Linked DNA regions of Homo sapiens: region 2 is linked to region 1. The links are contacts of gene promoters, found by promoter capture Hi-C in human tissues and cell types (Jung and others, 2019). All regions are on one chromosome and are shown on one strand. Each heading gives the region's core, a stretch centred on a gene start or on the middle of the fragment in contact. The rest is flanking DNA. Distances are from core to core; before and after follow the strand shown. Region 1 holds the start of NME9 (NME/NM23 family member 9). Region 2 overlaps DZIP1L (DAZ interacting zinc finger protein 1 like).

Region 1 (7,197 bases), core at 2,893-5,392:
ATAGTAAACATTTCTGTATAATGTTTTTTACTTTGAAATAATTTCAAACTTAGAGAAAGTGTGCAAGTACAGTATAAAGATTTAGGGATTTTTTTTTTTTTTTTTTTAGGTATTTGGAAGCAAATTACAGCTTGTTATCTTATTACTCCTGAATATATTATTCCTATATAACACATTACGATAATCAAAATCAGGGGAAAAAAACACTGACATATTGTGAACATTTAATCCTTAGATAGAGTGCAAGTTTTCCTATTTATCCCATAATGTCCTGAGTATCAAAGGAGCTAATCAGAAATGTGTGCTAGATTTATTTGTCAAGTCTTTTTAGTCTGGAATAGTTCTTTAGTCTTTCTCTTCTTTTCACAATGTTGACACTTTGGAAAACTACATGCCAGGTATTTTGTAGAATGTCCCTCAGTTGGGGCATATCTGATGTTTCCTCCTGATTGGATTCAGACTGTGCATGTTTGGACTGGTTGAAATTGGCTGGACTGGTTGGAGTGTTGGAGAAGCTGAAGATCATTCCTCTCACTACTCCCTAGCAGATGAGACACAATTTCCATCTGCCTGTTACTGATGTTCACTTTGATCACTGGATTAACATGGTCTGTCAGGTCTGTTGTCTGTAAAATTATTCTCTTTTCCTTTGTAATTAACATATTTTTGTGGTGAGCTACTTTGAAACTATATACATTAAAAGACCACAAAAATTACTACTGGGTTTTTTGTTTGTCTTTTTTGAGACACAGTCTCACTCTGTCACCCAGTCTGGAGTGCAGTGGCATGATCATGGCTCACTGCAACCTCTGCCTCCTGGGTTCAAGAGATTCTCCTGCCTCAGCCTCCCAAGTAGCTGGGATTACAAGTGCCCGCTACCACACCCGGGTAATTTTTTGTATTTTTAGTAGAGACAGGGTTTCACCATGTTGGCCAGGCTGGTCGTGAACTCCTGACCTCAAGTAATCTGCCTGCCTCGGCCTTCCAAAGTGCTGGGATTACAGGCATGAGCCAGCACGCCTGGCCTACTATTGTTCTTAATACAGGTATGCTAAGGTCTGTGTCCCTCTAAAAAAGATAGGATGCATTATTGGCAATAAGGGCAAGAAACATGTAACAACTGCTAATCCTCTATTAAAAGTTCCTTTTTTGGCCGAACGTGGTTGCTCATGCCTGTAATCCCAACACTTTTGGAGGCCAGGGCGGGCAGATCACTTGAGGCCAGAAGTTTCAGACCTGCCTGGCCAACATGGTGAAACCCTGCCTCTACTAAAAAAAAAAAAAAAAAAAAAAAAAAGTTAGCCGGGCGTGGTGGCGCATACCTGTTTTACCAGCTACTCGGGAGGCTGAGACATGAGAACTGCTTGAACGTGAGAGGTGGAGGTTGCACTGAGATGAGATCATGCCGCTGCATTCCAGCCTGGGCGACAGGACAGAATGAAACTGTCTCAAAAAAAAAAAAAAAAAAGTCTCTCTTTTAAGGAAGCATAGTCCTTACTTTTTTTGTTTCAATGAAAAGTAGAAGAAAAAGAAACCCAGAAAAGTCTTCTTGATGTCTTAAATGAAATAAGAGAGTTGGACTGACATAACCCTGGGCCCACAACTACAGTCCTGAGGAAGGTGATAGAAGCGTTCGGAAGGGCCCCACACCCCTACCCAGAGGCTCAGACTTAAGTCACCAGCAGCTCTCTGTGGCCCACCCCTGTCATGGAGTGAGTCCCACCAGCTCTGGGGCCAGGACTCTGGGCAGTTGAAGAATCTCAGCCCTGGGAGCCAGGCAAGAGTGGAACAGTGTGGGAACTATCCGGACTTCACTAAGCCTGCATTTGGTAGGGAATGAATAGGGAATGTGTGGCACCTTTTACCCAGACTGTCCCTTGATGTCCTGTGATTTCTGCCTGTCTCAGTTATAAAGGGAACCCTGAATAACCTTGCTGAGAGAGAGGACAAGGTTCCTGGGTTGGCCAACTTTAGGCATTGCTTTCAAGGGGTTTACCTTATAGAGAGGTGACCTTTACACAGATGCCTCAGTAGAAGACGGGAGGGGAGGCTGCTCGCTCTCCTCCTTTCAGCAGGAGGGAGCACTTAGTTTGAGTACTGCATTGTACTCAGAGCTCTGAGTAATACACATGAAAAAATAACAACATTGCTAACAAAAGTTATTACCCCCATAGGAGCTCTAGGGCATCAACACATGAAATGACCATAATATGGGGCAATAACATTAGAGACACCACAGACAACATCAGACCAGCCAGGAAGTGTCTAAAGGAGTCTCATCACAGCTCTGCAGGCGTTACAGGACAGGTATCATCCCTCCTGTCTACGTAAAGGATACGGAGGCCAGAGAGTTGAGGAAATGAGTCACACAGCAATGAATGGTAGGACCAGTTGATCAGAATTTACTTCAACCAGAACATTCACGTATGAAGTGGCTTCTGACTCTAGAATCCTAGAATATCAAGGCTGGAAGAAGGCCCTTAGGGATAATTCACACAACATCCTCATTCCATAGATGGGCAAGCTATAGCCTGGAGAGGTTATGTGATGTAGTCAAAGACACAGTTGGCTATAGAGGACACAAGAACTACATCAGGTCTTCTGACTTCCAGTCTAAAAATCCCACCCCACCCCACCCCACACCCCTCCCACCCCCAGCATGGGGTACCCTTAGAATGATGCTGCTTTCCCCTTTCCTCTTTTTTAAACCACTAGGCTTTTGAAATCCACATGCAAACTGCTGGTCCTGCTGAGGACAATAAGAGAGAAACCAGATGTCTCAAAACCACTAATGCTCTATTATCTAGGAGGCGCTGTAGCCTTGGTATGCATCTTACTGGGGCCAGCTGATGATGAGGCATTTTAAGTTCGTTTTAAAATGTTCCCATGTTGCAGATCATCCAGCTGATCTCCTTATGACCAAGCACTCTCTCCTAATTCCAGGGTCTATGCCTGCATGTTTTTACCATCACTTCAGAATCAACCACTATCTATTGTCCAGGACCAAGAAGAAGAGCAGCTGCTGGCTTCTGAATTCACTTGTCCCACATGCAAATGAAGTAAGACACTCTATATAACATATGTCCAGCACATAATATATCTCAAAACATATTTGTTAATAAGTGAAATTTGATGAGAACAGTGGTGGGAAAACTGGGTCTCCACAGAGCACACAGTTACAGACTCATGCCCAAAGTCAAAAGAACCTATACTGTATTCTCTGTGCAAGCTGCAGTTGTATTTCAACAAGAACAAAATAACGGTCACATCGAGTTATGTTGATTCGTATTTTCTTAGTTTATAGTTTTATTTAATGCATGTTTAGGTTTTATGGTTGTATAAGCACTATAAATGTAAACAGCTTCTACTCAGTTTTGTTTGCATTAATTTTGTTTGCGTAAAATTTGTCATCACTGGGGTTCCAAGATAAGTTTTGTCCCTTTAAGACGGAAGGGTACATCACTCAAGTTTGAGAACACTGTCACGTACTGCTGGCAAACAGAATGTCACTTTTATACTGCAACCCCGCTCTAATCACCCTCCTCTTCCCCGAGCCCAACCCAGAGCTGGAAGCTAGCGCCCCTTGAGGCTTACCTGCAGGGCAATTTCCTTCTTCCTGCTGCCCATGGCTCTGCAAAGAAGACGAAGCCCTGTTACCGCGGCCGTGGGCCGTTCCCCCGCAGCCTCGCGACAAACCGCTGCGTGGATCAGCAAGCCCAGAGCCTCCTTCAGACAAGCCCCCCTCCTACGGCCCCCGGCCCCTTTTTAAGGTGCTTCTAACTGGCGGCAAATCAGCACACTGATACAAAGTGAACACCCCGCGAGGAAGCGGAGCCTGCAGTCCACGGGCTCGTGGCTCGCCGGGCGGTTTTCTGGGGATCTGCGAAGCCCCCTCCCCACCCCGGAGCCGGCCAGGGGGCGCGCGCAGAGGCCGGAGTCAGTGCGCCGGGCGCGGTGCAGCCTGTCGGGCACAGGGTCGCCAGTCGAGGAATTCTGACAAAAAAACGACATGGGACCCTGTTATCCCTGCTGTTCTTATGGATTACTGGGAAAGTGAGCCACTGCGAACGACAGGTACAAGATCTTCGACGCGCCCGGAGTCACCAACCGAGTCTGCCGCGACCTAGCCGCGGTCGTCATGGCAACCTGGCCCCCCCGCCAGGCCTGCCAGGAAAGCCGGCGGACACGTAAGCCACGCCCACTCTGGGCCCAACGCAGTCTCTCCGCGGAGGCTCTGAACCCAGCCAGGGAGAGGCAGGAGGGAGTCCCGCCCCTTGCCCTCCATATCGGACCATAGGAACCCACTCATTGGCTGCAGTGTTTGTCAGCGTCTGGAGGCTTCGAACCCACCAAGCAAAGACCCAGTGCATCTGTGCGTTGCACAGTCGCATCTGTGAATCCCTGCATCCCTCCTGCCCTGCCTGCCAAGACTGATGTGCAGCTTTTCTACCATCACATACCGGTATAATGTGTGCAAGGTGGGGGGTGTCTCCAGGTTTTGAGGGATCTGCAAGCGTTCTCTTTAAGGCAAAGAATATGAAATTACAAATTCAAAATTAGATATGAAAGTCAAGTGAGACACATACAAAACAGTTACAGACATTGTAGATATTAATCCAACTGTATCAATAACCACTTTAAATGTGAATAATCTGATTACACCAATTAAAAAAGAGATTGTCAGAATGGATTTCAAAAACAAACAAAGCCCAATCGTGTGTTATCCACAAGAAAATACATTAAAAGCAAAAGGATAGAGAAAGCTATACCAGGCTGACACTAATTAAAAAAATAGCTGAAGTAGGTATGTTAATTTCAAGAAAAGCAGACTTCAGAACAAGGAAATTTATCAGGTATAAACAGGGACATTACATAAAGTTAAAGGGATCAGTTATTTGGGAAGACATAACAATACTTAATATGTATGTACTTAAAAACAGAGCACCGAAATATGTGAGGCAAAAGAAGATAAAACTGCAAGGAAAAATAGGTAAACTCAGTATTATAATAGAATGCTTTCATACCATTTTTAAAAAGTAATTAATACATCCAGCAGAAGCAAATGAGCAAGGATATAGTTGAACTGAAAAATATCAAATTGATCTAATTGACATTTATGCAATATTTAGTTCAACAACAGCGGAATATAGATTCTTTCTCAAGCTCACATGGGACATTCACTGAGATAGACCACAATCTAGGCCATAAAACATAGCTTAACAAATTTAAAAGGATAGAACAAAGTATGTTCTCTGACTGCAATAGAATTAAACTAGGAATCAATCACAGCTGATGAAAGAGATCTCACAGATTTAAATAAATGAAGAAATATTCCGTGTTCATGGATAGGAAGAATTAATATTGTTAAGATATCAATTCTTCCTAAGTGAAGCATACACCAAATGATTTCCATCCAGGGAGTGCTGATACCCTGTTTGGCCATGAGGTACCCAGCAACCCTCTGTGAAGTACAGGGCGATGGGTATACTGGAGACCGAACATCTTCCTACCTGTCATCCTGCCTTCTCCCACTTCAGCTCCGAATCCACCTACTCTTTTCTTGCATTCAGTCCCATGGCAATATTCAGTTCCATGATAATATTACGCAGAGCCACAGGCAGTCCTTAAGACACCACATTGCAAACTGAGTTGACTAGATGCAAATCATGTTCATTGCCACAAGGTGGTGGTTGCTGAAGCTCTTGAATGGTGTGGAATCTCCCTTAGAATTTAGTTTCCAAAATAAAATTCAAATCAGATGCTAAATTCCTCTTGCCAGCACATGGAAAGATAGTGACATTTATTCTTTCTGAAAGGGTTAAATTTCTTACCATGTGGTCTCTATTACAAAATGTACTCACATCTTTGCCAGGCTAAACCTCAGAAACAAATTTAGGTAAACCACATGTCCCAGTTTGCCTGGGACACCCCCACTTTTCACCTGTTGTCCCATGCAATTATTAATAGCAACCCCTCTCACTTTCAAAAGTGTACAGTTTGGGTAGGGTGCAGTAGCTCACGCCTGTAATCCCAGCACTCTGGGAGGCCGAGGCAGGTGGATCACTTGAGGGCAGGAGCCTGGCCAACATGGTGAAACCCTGTCTCTACTAAAAAAAAGTATCAAATAACTGGGCCTGGTGGTGCATGCCTATAATCCCAGCTACTTGGGAGGCTGAGGCAGGAGAATCACTTGAACCCAGAAGACGGAGGTTGCAGTGAGCCAAGATCGTGCCACTGCACTCCAGCCTGGGTGACAGAACAAGACTCCATCTCAAAGAAAAAAAAAATTACAGTTTGGACAACATGGAACCTCATCAGTTTTTTCCCAGATGAATCACCTTGGGCCACTCCTGCTTTTTAATAAAACTTCCATCTTTTACATGTTTTGTGACACAGGTGAATGGTTTTTTTTGTTGTTGTTGTTTTTGTTTTTTTGGTTTTTTTTTGAGACAGAGTCTTGCTCTGTCACCTGGGCTGGAGTGCAGTGGCGTGATCTCAGCTCACTGCAACCTCCGCCTCCCGCGTTCAAGCAATTCTCCTGCCTCAGCCTCCCGAGTAGCTGGGACTACAGGCATGTGGCACTATGCCCAGCTAATTTTTGTATTTTTAGTAGAGATGGGGTTTTACCCCGTTGGTTGGCCAGGATGGTCTAGATCTCTTGACCTTATGATCCGCCTGCCTCAGCCTCCCAAAGTGCTGGGATTACAGGCATGAGCCACTGCTCCCCGCTGGGTCAGTGTTTTTATTTATTATCCAAAAGTCAGATTTTTTCAAATGTATCTATTTTTAATCAGCCCTTCCCTCAGTGATGTACTTTTTTGTTTGTTTTATTTTAATGCAAAACCTGCTAACTAAATTTAAGGGCTACTGAGGTGTTTTAGAGTTCAAAAGATTAAAAACCAAACTCTTCCTCCTGCAACTCATGTTTATTGCCACAAGGTGGTGGTTTACTCAAAATAAACCCTTCTGAGACCCAAATTGGACACTAGGAGCATTTTCTTTATCAAAATGCTTCAGAACTGATGTGACTCTGTAAAACAAGAATGACCCTCCTCACTTTAAGAGGAAATCATAGACCAAAGCAGGCTGTGCTTCCTCGGATGCCTTCCCGTTTTTCATCGTAGAAGATAAGAATGTATATACACATCTTCGTCTAACCTAACTCCTCTCTCCTTCCAGGTGTAATGTCTTCTTTTT
Region 2 (7,197 bases), core at 2,616-5,115, 220 kb before region 1:
CACTATTAATACACCTTTTTATACATGCTCCAGAGTTGTATCCTTTATAACATAGTACAAGCACACATTACACACCACACACCCTACATACACACAGAGGTACCCTTCAAGTATTCACACACACACACACACATTAAACACACACACATGTTCACATCATTTACAAACACACACACTCGCCATACATTCATGCATATACATACACTAGACATGTACCCTCTCCATAAACACGCACACCTCCCACACATGTACAATCTACACACACATACACACACACACACACTGTAGAACCTAATGAGACACCCCCAGGCTCTCTGGCCATGAGCAGCATCTCTGAAATCTGCTCCTAACCAGTGAGAACAGCCCCCCAGCAGCCTTAAGGTCCCAGCAGTGCTGCCCAGTGGCAACAGTTGCCCCAGTGGCTGGGGCACACAGCCCTCCCACTCTCCCTGCCTGGTGGAGATTCCTCACCGTGTGGTAGCTGTGGGTGCCTGTCTGCATTAGCAGCTGCTGCAGGGTGCTGATCATCTTGCGACGCCGGCGGCTCTCCTCCCGCACACCCTTGAGCTCGTCAGCCTGGCGTCCCAGCTCCTGCTGACCACGCTGCTGCTGGCCCAGGCTGGTCTGCAGCCGTGCCTCCAGCTGGGCAACACTGGCACTCAGGCAATCCTGGCAGTGCAGCAGGTACTCAATGATGAGCTGCGCCAGGCGCAGCACCTTGAGCAGTGCCGGGTCCACAGGCTGCCCACAGCGGCTGCACACCTCCCGGTCCAAGTTGCAGAAGGTGATGCCAGCAATATTCTCCTGCAGAGTGGCCACATCCAGTTCCCGGGCCACGCGGTCTACATCCAGGGTGCTAATGCGTCTCCAGTCCATGCTATCATGGCGAGGCTGAAACTTGAAGGTGGGGAACGTGTAGGCCCCAAAGAGGGGGCCACTGAGGCCCTCAGCAGTGGCAGCTGGGGACTGCATGGGCAGAGGAAGCCCTGAGCTGACCACCAGAGGAGGGGGGCACCAAGGCCACGGCAGTAGGCCAAGGAGCTGAGAGAAGGCCTGGAAAATAAGAAGAGAGTCCAAGTTAGGTGAGGTGTGTGTGGCTGCACCTACTGTATATCTGGCCAGCAAGGGCCTAAGCGGGGCAAAGTGAGGTGTCTGTGCAGCAGCTGTAGCATTCATGGTGTGTGCTGACATGGCCAGAGCTGTGGAAAGAAAACATGGGCTTTGCAATCACACAGATGTGGATTCGAATGCTCTGCCTTGGGCAAGTCCCTGCACATCTTTAAGCCTCCTGTGTCTAAGGAGGAACATGGGTCCCACTGTGCAGGCCTGTGGTGAGGAATGAGGCAAGTGAAGCACCCAGCCTAGTGCCTGGCACATAGCAGGTCCTCAGTGAGCCCCCTCTGCAAAGCCCACCTCCACTGCAGGAATGCCTGGCAAAGGCCTTTGTCAGCAGGTGACTATCAAATTTACAAATGGGTCCTTCTGCAACCCTATTTTTATCTCAAGATAAAGTCCGACAACTTGCTGTGAGTGACCAAGGTTCCTAATGTCCACCCTGTCTTCTCTTTCTCATATAACTACAGGATTCTAATGGAACACGAGTGAACTACCTTTCCCAGCTTCTCCAGCAATAACGTGTGATCATATGACTAAGTTCTCTCTCCTGGAATGTGAGTGAAATGATGTCCACCCCTGTCAGGAGGGGCTTAAGAGAGTTACGGAGTCTCTGCCACATGGTGCTCAATCCATCATGGGCTTTTTTTTAACTTAATAGTTAAGTAAAAAGATCTCTAGTTTCTTTGCCAAGACTCAGATTCTACTCTCTAAACTCTTGGTGAGCATATGAACTGTTCTCTCTGAAAAGTAATTTGACAATATCAATGGGAATTTTGAACATTCCACTACTAAAAATTATAATTATGCTACAAACTCATATGTACAAAGGTACTTGTGAAAAAATTGTCATTGTAGCATCTTTTATAAAAGCAAAGTAAAAGAAAAAGTAGAAGAAAGCAAAGTACAATGTATCTCTATGCAATGGAATATTATGCAGCTATTGATTGGTATAAAGCAGACTTACATGTACTGATATGAAATGATAATCTCCAATATATATATATGTAAACACACACAAAATAGGCATATATACCTCTATTTCTGTTTTAATGACATATTAATATAATCATATTTAATAACTCACCAAAGTGAAAGATATATATCATATTAGAATGGTTGTCTATGAGAGGAGGGAGGGAAATGGGAGTGTGGAATGGGGATAAATAAATGGATGGATGGTGTGTGGGTGGTGATGGTCAGATAGACAGGTAAATAGGCCTTCACAGACCAATGATGATCATTTTATATAAATATATATATATATACATATTCAGTCGTCTGTCAGTGTCCATGAGGGATTGGTTCCAGGACCCTCCTCAGATACCAAAATCTACAGATGCTCAAATTGCTTATACAAAATGGTGTAGTATTTGCATATAACCTATACACATTCTCGCACACACTCTAAATCATCTCTAGATTATTTATAATACCTAATACAATGTAAATGCTATAAAAATAGCTGTTATACTTAATTATTTAGGAATAATGACAAGAAAAAAACTCTGTACATGTTCAGTACAGAAGAAACTATCCTTTTTTTTTCAAATATTTTTGATCCGCAGTTTGTTGAATCTGTGGATGCAGATCCACAGATATGGAGAGTCAACATATATATACACCCATACACACACATACATATGAAAGACTCATATTTGTTATAATTAGTTTTATAATGAATAAAATATGCTCATTTATAATTCATATGTATGATTCACTTATGTATATTATTTCATAAGCATAGACTGTTTCTGGAAAGATAGACAAGAAGCTATTAGCAATGGCTGCCTCTGGGAAGTGAAAATAGAGATTACAGGACTTTTATTTTTCACTTTCTACCTCTCTGTACTATTCAAACTTCTTATCATCATCTTCTATCACTTTTATTATTTTTTAAAATAAAACATAGAATTTCAGTTCTTGCAGAAGTGAGAATCTGACTAAGGCAACAAGAGGTACACTTTACCCTATTTAATCAAGTCTTTCGAGATTACATGATTCAGTCTTCTTTCTTTTTTTTTTTTTTTTTTTTTTTTTTTTTGAGACAGTGTCTCGCACTGTCGCCCAGGCTGAAATACAATGGCGCGATCTCGGCTTACTGCAACCTCCACCTCCCGGGTTCATGCAATTCTCCTGCCTCAGCCTCCAGAGTAGCCGGGATTACAGGCACACTCCACCACACCTGGCTAATTTTTTGTATTTTTAGTAGAGACAGGGTTTCACTATGTTGGCCACACTGGTCTCAAACTCCTGACCTCGTGATCCACCCGCCTCAGCCTCCCAAAGAGCTGGGGTTACAGGTATGAGCCACTGCACCCGGCCCATGATTCAGACTTTAAAAAGTGCAATAGAAAGTGCACTTTAAAAAGTGCAATAGAAAGTCAAAGAAGTCATCAGCTTCAGAAGGAAGAAGGCCTTTAAAAAATCGTAGGACTAGGCTGGGCGCAGTGGCTCACGCCTGTAATCCCAGCACTCTGGGAGGCCAAGGTGGGTGGATCACGAGGTCAAGAGATTGAGACCATCCTGGCCAACATGGTGAAACCCCGTCTCTACTAAAAATAGAAAAATTAGCCGGGCGTGGTGGCGTGCACCTGTAGTCCCAGCTACTCGGGAGGCTGAGGCAGGAGAATGGTGTGAACCTGGGAGGCGGAGCTTGCAGTGAGCCGAGATCGCGCCACGGCACTCCAGCCTGGGTGACAGAGCGAGACTCCGTCTCAAAAAAAAGTGGTAGGACTAGGTTGGCCAAAAAAAAAAGAGAGAGAGAGAGAGAAAGAGAGAGAGAGAAGGGCCTCCAGGAACAGCCCCTGACCCCACTGAGCCACTGTCTTCTTCTGTGAAAGGCAGTGACAGGCCAGCCCTGCCTACCTCACAGGGTGCTATGAGACTTGGAGAAGATGCAAGGGGAAGGTGCTCAGTGATAACAATGGCAGCTCTGCAGGGAGTGTCACCCTCTGTGCTAGATACAAACTCCTAATACAAACCTACAAACAGGTATTATTATTCTCATTTTACAAATAAGGAAACTGGTTTCTGGAGTGGTTCAGTGGCATCCCCCAAAGGTCATATGTTGAAAACTCAATCCCCAATGCAGCAGTGTTGAGAGATGGGACATTTAAGAGGTGATTAAGTCACGAAGACTCTGCCCTCATGAATGGATGAATGTCATTATTGTAGGAGTGGGTTAGTTATCACAGGAGTAGGTTCCTGATGAAAGGAGGAATTCAGTCCCCTTCCCTCTTGCTCTTATGCTTTCTTGACCTTCCACTCTCCACCAGGAGATGATGCAGCAGGAAGGCCCTTGCCCAATATTGGACTTCAAGCTTGATATTGGACTTGATATTGGACTTAAGCTTCCAGAACTGTGAGAAATACATTTCTTTTCTTTATAAATTACCCAGTCTGTGTCATTCTGTTGCAACAGTACAAAATGGATGAAAACAGGAGACCAGATTTGAAGTGTAATTGTAGGTTCATCTGGCACCAAAGCTTATGGACTCTGAACCACTCAACATTGATTCTTGGGGCTATTCCTCCTAAAATATTGCTTTGATCAGATTATCATCCTTTATCCCTTAAACCTCCAATTCATCCATTTACTCACTCCTCATTTATAGTATGCCTATGTGGGCCCAGCCCAAGCTCAGGTCCTGGGCTATGGAGCCATATTAACCACACAGCTGCTCCCCACCCTGGAGCTCAGCATGGCTCCCTATTCCCACTGTACCAAACGCAAACCTCTCAGCCTGGTCTTGAGACTGCCTACAGGATGCCACTGGCCCACCTTTTCAGTTTCAGATCCATCCTTCCCTTTCTCAGATACTCTTTCCCAACAAGTACTCCAAAAAGAAAACCAGCCTGACATAAGCACCCCCACCATGGCCATGAGAAGACTAGCACATTTCTGCCATGTTATGAAACAGTGCAGTGGCGCGATCTCGGCTCACTGCAAGCTCTGCCTCCCAGGTTCACGTCATTCTCCTGCCTCAGCCTCCCAAGTAGCTGGGACTACAGGTGCCCGCCACCATGCCTGGCTAATTTTTTGTATTTTGAGTAGAGATGGGTGACATGATACTCACCATGCTTAGCTCCAAAGCTGCAACTGTGCCACCAGAGCCTCAGAGACGACTACTCACAACAAGCTGTGCCTCGGAGCAACAGCAGGTTACCAGGCATGCTGTGGGCAAGGGTAATAAGACACCTGCTTCCTGATGTCCCAGCTCTCAGGTGAGCTCACCTGAGAACTGCACTGTTTAACTATTTAAGCTTTGGCGTCAGATGTTTGCCAACAGTCCTCTCTCTAATAATAAAGTCAAGAACTCTCCATCAGCCACTCTCTCTCTCATCTCTCCTCCTACCTTTTTGAATGCTCTTCCTTAAACAGTGGCTATTCTTTCCCCTTTCTTTTATGACAGGGTGTGCCACTGCCCCCTTGATATTCTGCTATCCACCTGCAACCCATTTCTCCCTGCACGCTATCCCTAGGAATGAGCTCACAGCTTCAGCTACTATAGGCTTGCTCTAGGCTGAGCCTCAGTCACCCCCAAATCTCTTTCTCTCTAGCCCCTCGGTCTCTTGTGATCTTATACCCAACCATTCCATACTGATAATGCCAGGAATTGCAAACCCAAGTTCCACCAGGGCCAGAAAAGTAACATTAAATGCACAAAATGTAGCAGATATGAAAGAAACCACAGTACATGTGTGATGATAAATGGCAACTCATTCTCCATCTTATTGTCCAAGGTACAATAAGGCAGTGGTTCTCAAAGTGTGGTCTCTGGACCAGCAGCATCAGCATCACCTGGGAATTTGTTAGAAATGCAGATCCCCAGACTTACTGATTTAGAACCACTAAATCTGTGGAGTGCTGGGCTAGGAAACATTAGGGATTGTGGCAAACCTGAGAGTGCAGGCCCTGTTTAAGGTGGGAAACCACTATTGAGCTCCAGCCACAGGGGAATGGATTTTGTGTTCCTTATTGGCTAATTCCAAATACACTGAGTGATATTCAAAGACTTTGATGAACTGCTTCCAAAAGTACCTCTCTAGCTGCATCTCCCATTTACCATATTACTTGCCTTCCACACTTTCACACTTCTGGGCTGTTTATTTTATGTATAGACACTGTTTTTAAATGCTTTACAAAGAAGCACTCATCTATTTCTCAGGACAAGCCCTTGAGGAGGTACTATTATCATCTAAGCCACAGAGAAATAAAGAAGCTTGCCCAAGATCCAGAGGCAAGATTCACACCCAGGCAGCCTGGCTCCAGTCTGGGCTAGCCTCTATTCTATGCTGCCTCTTGGTATAGATGGTCCTTTGCCACCTCCTTTTGTTCCAATTAAAGGTTGACACATGTTTCAAGGCCCTGCTTATAAATGATTACCACCATATGGGAGTGTAAATTAGTTCAACCATTATGGAAGACAGTGTGGCGATTCCTCAAGGATCTAGAACCAGAAATACAAATTGACCCAGCAATCCCATTACTGTGTAGGTACCCAAAGGATTATAAATCATTCTACTATAAAGATACATGCACACATATATTTATTGCAGCACTATTAACAATAGCCAAGACTTGGAACTAACCCAAATGCCCATTAATGATAGACTGGATGAAGAAAATGTGGCACATATACACCATGGAATACTCTGCAGCCATAAAAAATAATGAGTTCATGTACTTTGCAGAGACATGGATGAAGCTGGAAATCATCATTCTCAGCAAATTAACACAGGAACAGAAAACCAAACACAGCATGTTCTCACTCATAAGTGGGAGTTGAACAATGAGAACACACAGACACAGGGAGGGGAATATCACACACCGGGCTTCCTGATATCCCAGCTCTCAGGGCTTAAAACCTAGATGACGGGTTCATAGGTGCAGCAAAACACCATGCATGTATACCTATGTAACAAACATGCACGTTCTGCACATGTATCCCAGAACTTAAAGTAAAATTAAAAATAAAATAAATAGATCCCATTTGTCTATTTCGGCTTTTGTTACCATTGCTTTTGGTGTTTTAGTCATGAAGTCCTTGCTGGAAACCATCATTCTGAGCAAACTATCAC

What was found. The method cuts DNA at HindIII sites, captures the fragments that hold promoters and counts their contacts. A contact is called where the count stands out against the background at its distance.
Region 2: a fragment that was not itself captured here is called in contact with the fragment with the promoter of NME9 in region 1 in 1 of the 25 tissues and cell types used here (spleen).

The regions. Positions count from the first base shown.
Region 1 is chr3:138,325,709-138,332,905 of GRCh38, forward strand. NME9 (NME/NM23 family member 9) reads right to left here and starts at 4,143. Exons shown (of 11, transcript NM_001349018.2): 1 at 3,595-4,143. The coding sequence starts at 3,627. It overlaps LOC124909438 (a long non-coding RNA gene), which reads left to right and starts at 4,225. Exons shown (of 2, transcript XR_007096113.1): 1 at 4,225-4,462. The HindIII fragment of the contact is 18,429 bases long and covers 1-7,197 here.
Region 2 is chr3:138,103,000-138,110,196 of GRCh38, forward strand. DZIP1L (DAZ interacting zinc finger protein 1 like) reads right to left here. Exons shown (of 16, transcript NM_173543.3): 2 at 472-1,053. The coding sequence starts at 972. Among named protein-coding and RNA genes, the nearest start is that of DZIP1L, 9.0 kb to the right of the region's middle. The HindIII fragment of the contact is 3,985 bases long and covers 1,874-5,858 here.